Regions from separate parts of the Homo sapiens genome. Here region 1 is linked to region 2. The links are contacts of gene promoters, found by promoter capture Hi-C in blood cells and fetal thymus (Javierre and others, 2016). All regions are on one chromosome and are shown on one strand. Each heading gives the region's core, a stretch centred on a gene start or on the middle of the fragment in contact. The rest is flanking DNA. Distances are from core to core; before and after follow the strand shown.

What was found. The method cuts DNA at HindIII sites, captures the fragments that hold promoters and counts their contacts. A CHiCAGO score of 5 or more calls a contact.
Region 1: a contact is called between a fragment that was not itself captured here and the fragment with the promoter of SLC22A15 in region 2, in 1 of 17 cell types (monocytes). The highest score is 5.7, in monocytes.

Annotation. Positions count from the first base shown.
Region 1 is chr1:115,726,527-115,732,366 of GRCh38, forward strand. CASQ2 (calsequestrin 2) reads right to left here. Exons shown (of 11, transcript NM_001232.4): 6 at 466-596. Among named protein-coding and RNA genes, the nearest start is that of CASQ2, 39 kb to the right of the region's middle. The HindIII fragment of the contact is 1,467 bases long and covers 3,700-5,166 here.
Region 2 is chr1:115,973,617-115,979,131 of GRCh38, forward strand. SLC22A15 (solute carrier family 22 member 15) reads left to right here and starts at 2,897. Exons shown (of 12, transcript NM_018420.3): 1 at 2,897-3,098. The coding sequence starts at 3,012. LOC101928977 (a long non-coding RNA gene) reads right to left here and starts at 3,660. Exons shown (of 5, transcript NR_125970.1): 1 at 3,481-3,660. RefSeq lists silencers at 2,744-2,973, 3,034-3,283. The HindIII fragment of the contact is 7,335 bases long and covers 1-4,189 here.

The DNA of each region.
Region 1 (5,840 bases), core at 3,183-5,682, 250 kb before region 2:
TCCCAGAAGTTCTATGCATAGAGTGTTCATCCTTGGCTAAGTTACTTAACTATTGAGTCCAATTCCTTGATCTGTAAAATTGGGATAATAATAATTACTCCCTAAGGTTGGAGATTAGATAAAATAGTTTCCCTAAAGCACTGGGCATGGTTATTGGTATATGGGAACTTTCACTAAATTGCTCTCATTCCTAGTATAGAATTTTATTTATATCTTGCCCTGGCTTTGAGGGGATTTGCTGACTGAGGGATTTATCAAACTCTGCTTGCAGGTGCAGACTTAGATTCAGAAGTAATAACATCCCTGCTAGTCATTACTGATCAACAAAGCCATACTACTGAGTTCTGTACTGCTGGGGTACTAACTAGGTTGTTGCTCTTGGCAGGTCTGAAATGTTAGCACAGAGAGGCTCCTCTCCATTCCCCAGACCCCAGGCCCCCAGCCCCCACATGCCATCTCAGGCACCTTTGGTGTTCCTTCACAAACTCCACCAGCTCCTCTTCTGTGTAAGGTTTGTTGGGGATGGCAATGGGCTCATCCATAAATGGCTCATAGAAGTCAACCTCATTCATCTTCAAAGATAATTTCTTTGCAACCTGTAACCATTAGAAATAAGACAAAGTTTATTTGAATACTAGTCTAGAATAGCAGTGTGTTGTCCATCTAAGATAAGTGTGTATGTTTTCCGGCAAAGACATAAAAACAGATGTACAGTTTTAACTTCAATGTTGAAGTGACAGGAACTTATCACCCAAGGCCTGGCTAGACTAATCTTCTTTTGTGATCAAAGAAGGAAAGATAGGAAGGAAAAAGACTTATCTAGCAAATGAGGGTCGGGCAGGGGCAGGGAGCAGTTGAGATGCGAAGTGGGAAATTTAATTCTACAATCACCATCACTCTACTGCATTTGCCAGGGCTGGATGGGAAGCAAATGCCAATGGAGCATATTTACTATCCTGTGTTGTATGGATTTAATGGAACCAATGTTGATAAAACAGGCAATTGATGGAGATCCTTAAGGCATATAGGTACTCAGAATCAGAACCCAACCCATTAGCCTGTCTTTGATCTGCTCATAGCCCTAATTGCTTTTTAGGTTGAAGTGCTGGCCCTACAGTTAAATCTCTCAGTACCCAACTTGCTTCATGGTTTGTCAGGCTTTGGGAGCTGCCCAGTTTGTCAGCAGTTATGAGGTGACTGACCATCTTGCTTTGTTCTGGGTGGAAGGGCTCCCTGGGATGCAGGACTTTCAGTACTGAAACTTGGACAGACCCCAGTAAGCCAGGATGATTTGCTCATCTTACAACAGATAAAGAGCTCGGAGAGCCAGCCGATAGCCAGGAAGACATTTTCTCTCTGGATTAAAGCAGCCACATGTTCAGTGTGTTGTCAAGGCAGAATGGTTGCTGTTTGCCTGCACAGCTGCTGAACTCAGGACCTCTGTTTGTGAAATGATTTCAGAGGCCTGGAATGTGCAACGCTCTATAGAAAACCAAATGCCACTCTTTTCTAGTTCAGAGCTGTGGTTCAAGAAAGCGCAGGGATGAACAGTGGTTCCCTTTAAGCTGAAGAGGAATTGCCTAAGAGCTGATGCACTGTGGTGGTAACCCGTGGTGCCGTGACCCAGGGCGGCTGCAACTAACTGGGGAAGGGGAGGAGCTGGGTATTGCATAAGCTCTTACACAAGGAGATCCATTCTGAGGAAACATTGATATCCATATGGTTTTTGTCATCAATTGCTATGAATTCCAGGTCACTATATTCTGAAAGGCATTTCATATAGTACTTAAGGGAGAGAAATTCCAGCATCCTACTCAGAGATCAAGAAAACAGGCCATGTTGACAGCTATAGTCAGTCAAGGGAGATTTTATTGTCAGGTTAATTTTAAGAGAGGGAGATGTGGAGTTTTTTCTAACTGTTTTTCCCTCTTCTCAGGGGTAGGGGGGTGATGTAGATGATGAGGTGATGAGGCAGGGAGCCAGAGTGGGCAAGAAAATGACATTGAATTCTGGTTTTCTGAGTTCACTTACTATGTATTCTAGGAACCAGAAGACTGTTTCCATGAAAGGAGAAGTGATCAGAATGAAAACAGTAATAATAACAAACATATGGAGTGCTTATCACGTGCCAGGCACTGCTGCCAGGTGTTTTAGGTTGATTCTTTGTTTAATTCTCACTTTGATTGTATGTGGTAAGAATGATTATCATAGTTATTTTACAAATGATGAACCTGAGGCACAATTTGGGTAAGAAATTTGTCAGGATCATATATCTGGAGGGAGCAGAGCCAGAAGTCAAACCCGCCTGGTGGTGGTGATAGTCTCGTCTCTGAATGCCAATGTCTGGGTCCACAGTGCTGTCTAAGAATGTAAAAATTGGATTGTCGTGTCCTTAATTTAAGTCTTGGAAATGCTAAGTAAAAATTTCCCAGGGATCTCTTCACTGTCTACCTACCACCATCATGGAGTGCTCTCATCTTGTATCTCAGAGAATCCCTCTCTTTCATTCTTTTTTTTTTTTTTTTTTTTTTTTTTTTGGTGAGACAGAGTTTTGCTCTTGTTGCCCAGGCTGGGGTTCAATGGCACAGTCTCGGCTCACTGCAATCTCCGCTTCCCAGGTTCGAGCGATTCTCCTGCCTCAGCCTCCCGAGTAGCTGGGATTATGGGCACAGGCCACCACACCCAGCTAATTTTTGTATTTTTAGTAGAGATGGGGTTTCGCCATGTTGGCCAGGCTGGTCTTGAACTACTGACCTCAGGTGATCCACCTCCCCCCTCGGCCTCCCAAAGTGCTGGGATTACAGGCGTGAGCCACTGCGCCCGACCCCCTCTTTCATTCTTATTATTCCTATCTTGGATGGTAAGGACTGAAGGGATTTGATTGGTTGAAGCTTTTATTCATTCATTTATTCAGTAAGTATTTAGTGGGGCCTACTGAACCCAAGGCATTATTCCAGGAGGAGATCTGGTTCATGGGTATTAGCATTATATAAGAATGAATTATATTATTAAGAACCAAATGGGTCCATAAAAATGAATTCTTTCATGCTTTTATCTGTTAACTAGTTGGAATAGATTTCAACAAAGATAAGAAAACTACAAAGTACAATGCCAATTTTCTGACATGTGCATGTATATGAATTTTGATACAAATCATTTTTCCTCCAGTTAGCAAGTCATTTTAGTTGTTGCCAATGAAACCAACTCAAGTATTAGGTTGGTGCAAAAGTAATCGCAGTTTTTGCCAAAAGTAATGGTTTTTGCCATTACTAAATTTAGGTCTTCCCAACATCTATCTTCTCCACTAACTTTGTTTAGTCACAGCACCCTTTGGCTCCAGTGTGATTTAAAAAAGAAAGTGATTTTTCGTCTCATTGTTCACTCAGACAGAGAGAGGAACAGGTCAGTGGGCGGGGACATGGGATTTTAAGAACTGATATTTTTCAGGCTGTGAGGTGCAGCAGAGTGGAACCATCCTTGGCCCTCTGACACTTTCTTGTTCTAACTGCTTCTTCAGAGAGGTTGGGCCTTCGTGTGGCTTGATTTAGGATTAGTATTAATAGATCAGTACTGGTCCTAAACCTCCACACCCTTTAAAATTCCTTGGGTGGCTTTTGAAAATGCAGATTCCCAGACACTGCCACAACCCTAAAAAATTAAAATTTCCAGGGCTGGGGCCCAGAGACCAATGGTTTTAAAAGCTTGTTGGAGGATACTAATATGGATAGTGGTTGGGAACTACTGACTGACAAATTTACATCAGCAGCCATGACATCTCACCCTCTTTACAGTCTTGCAACTCATATGATGTATTTATTGGTTTGTTTACTTTTGAACTTTCTGTCTTTCCATCTTCTCTTTCCCACAATAAACTTTAAATTCTAAAGGGCAGGAATCTGCTTTGCTCAATGTTGTGTCCCTGGCACTAAGAAGAGTGCCTGGCACATAAAGGGCACTCAATAAATACTTGTTGAGTGAATGACTGAATTAATTAATTAATTAATTAAGGACATTTCCAGTTGAATGTTTCCCCAACTTTTAGAAAATAGAACTCATAACCCCATCTCTTGTTCCTCAATAGATTCTTCTTCCTGGATTTCCTAATGTTTTCAGTAGCTTCATAATTTTTGCTGTCTTAACGCCAAGACTTGCTATCTTAAGTTATTTTGAGGCCTTCTCTCATCATCTCATCAATGGCCAGATCTTCTTGTTATATCCACTTTTACTAGTGCCAGTTGTTTTTTGCATTTTTGTGACCGCATTAGTGCTTTCTTGTCCCTTGCCTCTCCTGGTTTCAGACCTCAACAAAGCACCTCCAGGTCCCTCTGAGATTCCCTAGGATGTGTTGTACAAACAGGTCCTTTCAGCCACTTCACATTTATTACTTTTCTCCTCTTCTGTCCTAGCACTCCCTGCTGGAAACCACTGAGGCTCTACCAGGTGCAGTCATGCCTTCTGGACTCCACCATCTCCCCTTGGACACCCCCTCCACCCCAACTGATGGATGCAAGTTCTTAAGCACCAAATGGCATCAGAGTCCTCTCAGTGCTCTCCCCTCTGTGTACCTTTGTCTCTTTAAATATTCTGAAATCCAACAAGGCTACATGAACACTGGCACTTATGACTCAGTGTCCTACAGAATTTGAATAAAGCATCTCTCTGAATTTTTAATCATAGCCTGACCTCACCTTTTTCATGGACCACAGGCATGAAGCTATACAGTTGCACTAGGAGGCACTTCTACAAACAAATACTACCCTGAGCTCAACGTTGAACCACCCCTCTAAAAACTAAGGCTTTGTTGCTGGACAAATTAATTGGCCTGCCTCTCTATTCCTTTCAGCTGGATTCTTACCCAGGAGCCTCTTTAGCCACACCTAGTCCATTAGAACCAAATGGTCCATCAGAACCATATGTCAGTAATGGATTCAGTTTCGGCTTCTCTGTTCCTCCCTTTCTCTACTAATATCCTATCCAATCCTCCCACTTCCTGGGCCTAGATGATTGCTTTCTTATGAACAATGGTGCTCATAGCTGGCTAACTATTACTGAATGCTTCCTGTGTGCCAAAAACCAGCTAGGCAGTTTGCATATATTGCTTCTTTCTCTGGAGTAAAGTAGGACAGAGCATTGACTTTGAAGTCAGGCTGGTCTGAGATTATAGCAAGCTTCTCAATTCAGTAACTACATGATCATGAAAAAATCACTTAATCTTTCAGCACCTCAGTTTCATCCTCTGTAGAATGAGGATACTAATTCCTCCCTTATGGGAGTGTTGAAAGGATGAAGTGAGAAAATCCATGTTAACTTCTTAGCACACACTCTGGCACAAAGAGACTTCTTAGCACAGACTCTGGCACATAAAAATTTTTTTGAATTTATTATTTTTTATATTTTTATTTTTTGAGAGAGGATCTCACTCCATTGCCCAGGTTGGAGTACAATGGTATGATCACAGCTCACTGCAGCTTCAACCTCCTGGGCTCAAGTGATCCTCCCACCTCAAGCCTCCCAAGTAGTTCGGACTACAAGTGTGTGCCACCACACCCAGCTAATTTTTGTATTTTTTGTAGAGATGGGGTCTCACCATGTTGCCCAGGCTGGTCTCCAACTCCAAGGCTCATGCAATCCACCCCCGTCAGCCTCCCAAAGTGTTGGGATTACAGGTGTGAGCCACAGCACCTGGCCCATAATAGACACTTAATACATGATAGCTTTTTTGATTATTCTTGCTCAAGATCCCTCCCAACTGTAATACAACTAATTAGGATAAACATTCTTCAAGTTTAGATTATGTTACTTGGATTATAGAGCACTCTTCTGGATCATAGGCTTGAAGA
Region 2 (5,515 bases), core at 1,647-4,146:
AGTGGAGAATATATGTTATTTCAATACACGTGGAACATTGAAAAAAAAAAAAGGCTACGGGCTGGGCATGGTGACTTACACCTGTAATCCCAGCACTCTGAGAGGCTGAGGCGGGTGGATCACTTGAGGTCAGGAGTTTGAGATCAACTTGTGCAACATGGCAAAACCCCATTTCTACAAAAAATAAAAATGAGCCATGGTGGTGTCTGCCTATAGTTCTACCTACCTGGGAGGCTGAGGTGGAAGGATCACCTGAGCTGGGGAGATTAAGGCTGCAGTGAGATGTGATCAAGCCACTGCACTGCAGCCTGGGTGACAGAGAAAGATACTGTCAAAAAAAAAAAAAAAAGAATAAAAAGAGAAAAATCACATATTAGGTCACAAAAAATTAAAACAATTTCCAAGATTTAATATAATCTCTGTCTACAAAGCATATAAATTATAAACAACACTAAAAAGATGGTAAAAAAAATAGCAACCTTTAATTGGAAACAAAAAATGCACTAAAAATAGCTCATTGGTTAAAGAAGAAATGACAATGTCATGAAATATTTAAAAGTAAAGACAACAAAAGTACCACATGACAAAACTTGTCGGATGGAGCAAAGTCCTATAGAAAGGTAAGTACAACCTTAAATATAATTATTTTATTTATTTATTTATTTCTGAGACAGAGTCTTGCTCTGTTGCCCAGGTTGGAGTGTAATGGCACAATCTCAGCTCACTGCAACCTCCTTCTCCCAGGTTCAAGTGATTCTCCTGCCTCAGCCTCCTGAGTAGCTGGGACTATAGGCCTGTGCCACCACGTCCGGCTAATTTTTGTATTTTTAGTAGAGACGGAGTTTCACCATGTTTGCCAGGCTGGACTTGAACTCCTAACCTCAGGTGATCCACCAGCTTTGGCCTCCCAAAGTGCTGGGATTACAGGCGTGAGCCACTGAGCCCAGCCACACATAATTATTCTTCAAAAAGAAATATTAAAAGCAAAGAAGCTAAACTTCAAGTCATGTGGCTAGTAAAAGAATTACAAAGTAACAAAAGTAAAAAAAAAAAAAGGAAAGAATTCATATAATCAATGAAATAAAAAAATTCACAAAACTTTTTAAAAAATAATAAAGTAGACAAACCTCTGGCAAGACTGATAAGATTGGAACAATAAAGATGAACACTATTCAGAATGAAAAATGGGACATAAACAGTTAGACCCTTATTTTTAAAAATCCCAAGAAAACAATATGAACTAGTTTATTCCAAAAACAATTTCTAAACTAGATAAAATAGAAACATTTCTAGAAAAAAAGTGGTTCAAGAAGAAATGCAAAGACATACGAATATATCTAGTTATACACACCTATTTATCTTTACCCATTATCTATAAATCTGTAATAAAGAGGCTCCCCCTGCAAAACAAGCTAAGTCTAGATGGTTGCAGGAGAGTTTTACCAAACACTCACACTCATGTTATGAAAGCACTATAAAATCTTACTGCCAAATCTAGACATAAGCATCAGGAAGAAAAGAAAATTATAGGCCTAGTTCGCTAGTCACAGATGTAAAGTCCCTAGACAAAACACTAGCAAATTAAATTTGGCAATAAATAGCAATATCGTGAGCAAGTATTAATAGGATTTATTCCAGTAAAGTTCAATATCAAAAAAACTATTACCATAATGTACCCGATTATCAGATTCAAGAAGAAAAACAATAGGATCATGTCAATAAATGCAAAAAGCACTTATTAAACTTCAGCATTTATTAATAATGAGGATTCGTAGGAAACAGCCAAAGAAGGAAACTTTTTAAACTATTAATAGTACTTATACAGAAAACGTTTCCTTAAGTAAGAGAGAGAAAAAAATCTTAAGAGTTTATAGAGTTTACAGTTTCCAACCCACTGATAAATTCAATTACAGTGAGCATTCATTTAATTGCTAAAAAAAGAAAGCAGCTGACCAGTAAAGCCTAGCTACCAATACGCTGCAACAGACATCACAATTAACGGAAAATTTTGGAAGCATAAGAAGGATACTGGCAGGTCAAGGACACTAGCTGGTCGCCATTTCTATTCAATGTTAAACTAGAAGTCATGGTCTAGACAATGGAATACTATGCAGCTGTTAAAAAGACAACACATAATAAACAAAAAGGCAAATGAGGTTAGGAGGTGGAGGCATGAGGGGACTAACGCAGGTGTCCAGCGTCCCTTGGCCCTGCCACGCTTTTTTTTTTTAATTTCCACCTGACAAACTGCCGTTTATCCTTTAAATACCTTGGCAGCCATCACATCCTGCCCCTTCGTCTTTTGCACTTCCTTTGTACCTCGTGCATACTTCTATAAGCAAATGTATCCGACGGTTTTACAAGAATTTGCTTGCCTACCAGTGTACTTAACCCATGGCTAGCACAGAATAGGACTGGAAAGAAATGCTGCACAGACAGCACTTTTCTCTGAAGGCTCTAGGGCTCCCCAAGCCCCCGCATTAAACTGGTTTGGGCAAAACGACAGGCATTGCTGAGAGCCGCCAGGCCGCCCGCCAGCTGCGGGTCCCCTGTAGGCAGAGCCCTGGGTCACACGCGGACGCGGTCCCGATGTTTCTTCTCAGGCCCTCAGCCCGGCCCACTTCCTCTTTCCTCACTTTAAGGCGCAGACAGCGGTCCCTCTCAAAACAAAACGTACACCAAAACACCATTTTTTTTTTAAACAGGAAGTCCAGAGGCCCGGGTCCAGGGCATCCAGCCCCGGATCTCGAACGCCCTCCTCGCCCCTCGCCCCGCGTAGCCCGGCTGCGCTCCCCGCTCCCCGCCCGGCGTCCACCTCTCGAGCCTGACAGCCCCGCCGCCCGCGCAGGCGCCCCGCCCCGGCCCGGCCCGCCCCGGCCCCGCCGCCAGCGCTTCCATCCCCGCCCCGGCGGGTCCAAGCCGGTGCCGGGCGCCCAGGGGTTGCCGCGCTGGGCGGGAGGGCAGCGCCTGAGAGGGCGGTGGGGTGGCGGGGTTCCTGCGCGCGGCCCGCCATGGAGGTGGAGGAGGCGTTCCAGGCGGTGGGGGAGATGGGCATCTACCAGATGTACTTGTGCTTCCTGCTGGCCGTGCTGCTGCAGGTAAGTCCCCGCGGCCCCGCAGCCGCATTTCCCTCTTCAGGGCCGCCCGGCGCAGGGCTAGGCGTCCGCTCCCAGACCGCCGGGGCCGGGGCCGAGGCCGAGGCTCTGCAAACACCGAGGTGTGGCGAGCGTCGGGGTGGGGCAGGGGCGAGGCGCCGCGCGGTGGCCTGGGCCCGGCCGGCAGCGTCAAGGTCGCCGGCCGGCCTCAGAGCCTCTTGGGTTCTGCTGGGCCCTCCACCCCGCCACCTTGAGTGGTGGAAGGAGCGTGTTGGGGGAGGTTTCTCAGCCGCTATGCTGGTTAAGGAGGGATGCAAAATTGTGTTACCTGCCCTACGCTGTTGCCTATAACACGCTGCAAATATGAAGGGAATTGTTACCCTACCTGTGGCACTGTCACCTTGGAATCTAGGACACAGTCTTGATAATCTGCAGACAAAAGGTTGTGTCTAGGATCGCCTCCCTCTGCGCCGGGTGTCCTCTGCCTCTTTTCCTGGGCTTGAGGGGGCTTACTCTTCTAGGGGCTTTCAAAGCATAGGATTTATTTCCCTCTGGTTTAAGTTCTGCTGGCTCATTCGGCCCTGCGCCAGCCTTGGGCTGAGACTCCCGTGAGCCGAATAGTGCCATCTACCATGTGTGGTTATCAAATGGAATCACTTCTTCATTATAAAGAATTCTCAGAACCTACTTGTACACCCCAGCCTCAAAATATCGATTCCATATGCGAAAGGTCACTACAGATTAACTGCGCCAGGCAAGGATTAGTCCTTCACCAACTTAAATGGCTCATTTGACATTAGTCGCTTCTCTCAATATGCCAGAGGCATTTCATTCACAAATCCTTTCTTAGTATTTGCTGTGAGCCAGCCATTTTACTCTTTCCTTCAGTCATCAGGTTTAATACGGGCTAGGATGTGCTGAACATAGGGATGCCATGGTGGACAAATCATTGACTGCCCTCAGGAGCTTGCATTCCAGTGGCTGCGGGTGGGGCAGGCAGACAGTTAAGTAATTTAGTTAGCATGTGATGATAGTTATTCTGCAGGAAGTACAGAGTGGTCATGGATATAGCCACCAGTCCACAAGTTGCTTAAAGCTTGCATAAGACAGTGGCTCAACAGGAAGATGGGGGAAGGTAGGGGTTGACTTATTGATTAAAATGTTTGGAAGTTCAGTTGATTTCATCATCAGCCAGAAACGGTTCAAATGATGGAGTCAGTTCTTTTTCTAGCCGAACAGTTCTCAGCTCACGAATATGTGGTATTCTGAAGTTCTTTTAAGCTCGTTGTTTTAGCTTTAAACAAGCTTTCCCCAGGGAGAAAAAACGTTCAAGCTAAATGATAAGAGTATTTAATACCGAGAAAGAAGAATTGCAACCATGATGCCTGATCTTTATTTATAACAGTTTCTTTGAGAAAACCCTTTTTTTCTGTTCCAGCCATGAATTCCAGGAACATACATCCTTTCTTGAACAATCCCAGCTCCCCATCCCTCTATCCCTACCCTTCACTTCCTGTTATCATTTTCTTATTTGCCTAGCCAAGTATCCACTAACTTGGAGTAAGTTTGTCTTCAGTAGAGTGAGGTTCTAAAAAGGCCAGTGTTCTCGGTTTAGGACCTGTTAAGTTTCTCTAACTTACTTTTATTTATGGTTGACCCAGTTAGTTAGAGTTTGCTATCAAAAAGTTCCAAGCCCATGCCTATGACCGTTCACTAAACCTTGGATGATTTATGGTCAGTATTTGCGGTACAAGGACCAGGTCTTAGAGTGTTGGGGATGAGTGACTGATTGTTTATCTTATAGATGTGGGTGGGAAGATGCCCTGTAGCTGTGCTTATACCAGTGGAGGAGATGCCAGCCTAGGCAAAAGTGAATCCTTCACATGCTACGTGTTTTTAAGGACTCAGTTACCCCATTGAGATACATGATCCAGGGGGTTGTAGAGCCACCCAGAGCTACCCTGGGTATGAGAGTGGATATCCCCAAAGACCTCTCTACCAAGTCTGTTGTTGGAGATGTTTTGTATTACGGCAGCTGGTCTGTGGAGTGGGAGTACTGTGGAGTCCCATTGCTCAGTTGTATCACAGGTGATTTCATCATTCTTGGGGATGAGGTTTTGCTTCCCCCAGCAGAGTAAGAAGCCCTTTTTACACAGTTGCCTTAAATGAAAGGGGGTTTTTCTGCTTTTAAAATCAAAGGAGTTTTCGTACCATTGCCCAAGGAAGGGGCAGACCAACAACACAGCAACAAGGCCAGAGAGAGGGAGCCTCTGCTTCAGTGGGAGCCTTCTCCCCATCTGCGATTTGATAATGATTAACCCCAGCTGAGAGGCACAAAACCAGAAGGACAGAGGTGGAAATTTTACAGGCCTTTTAACATTTTCCTTCTTCTGGGACCATTATTATTATTTTTAAAAATG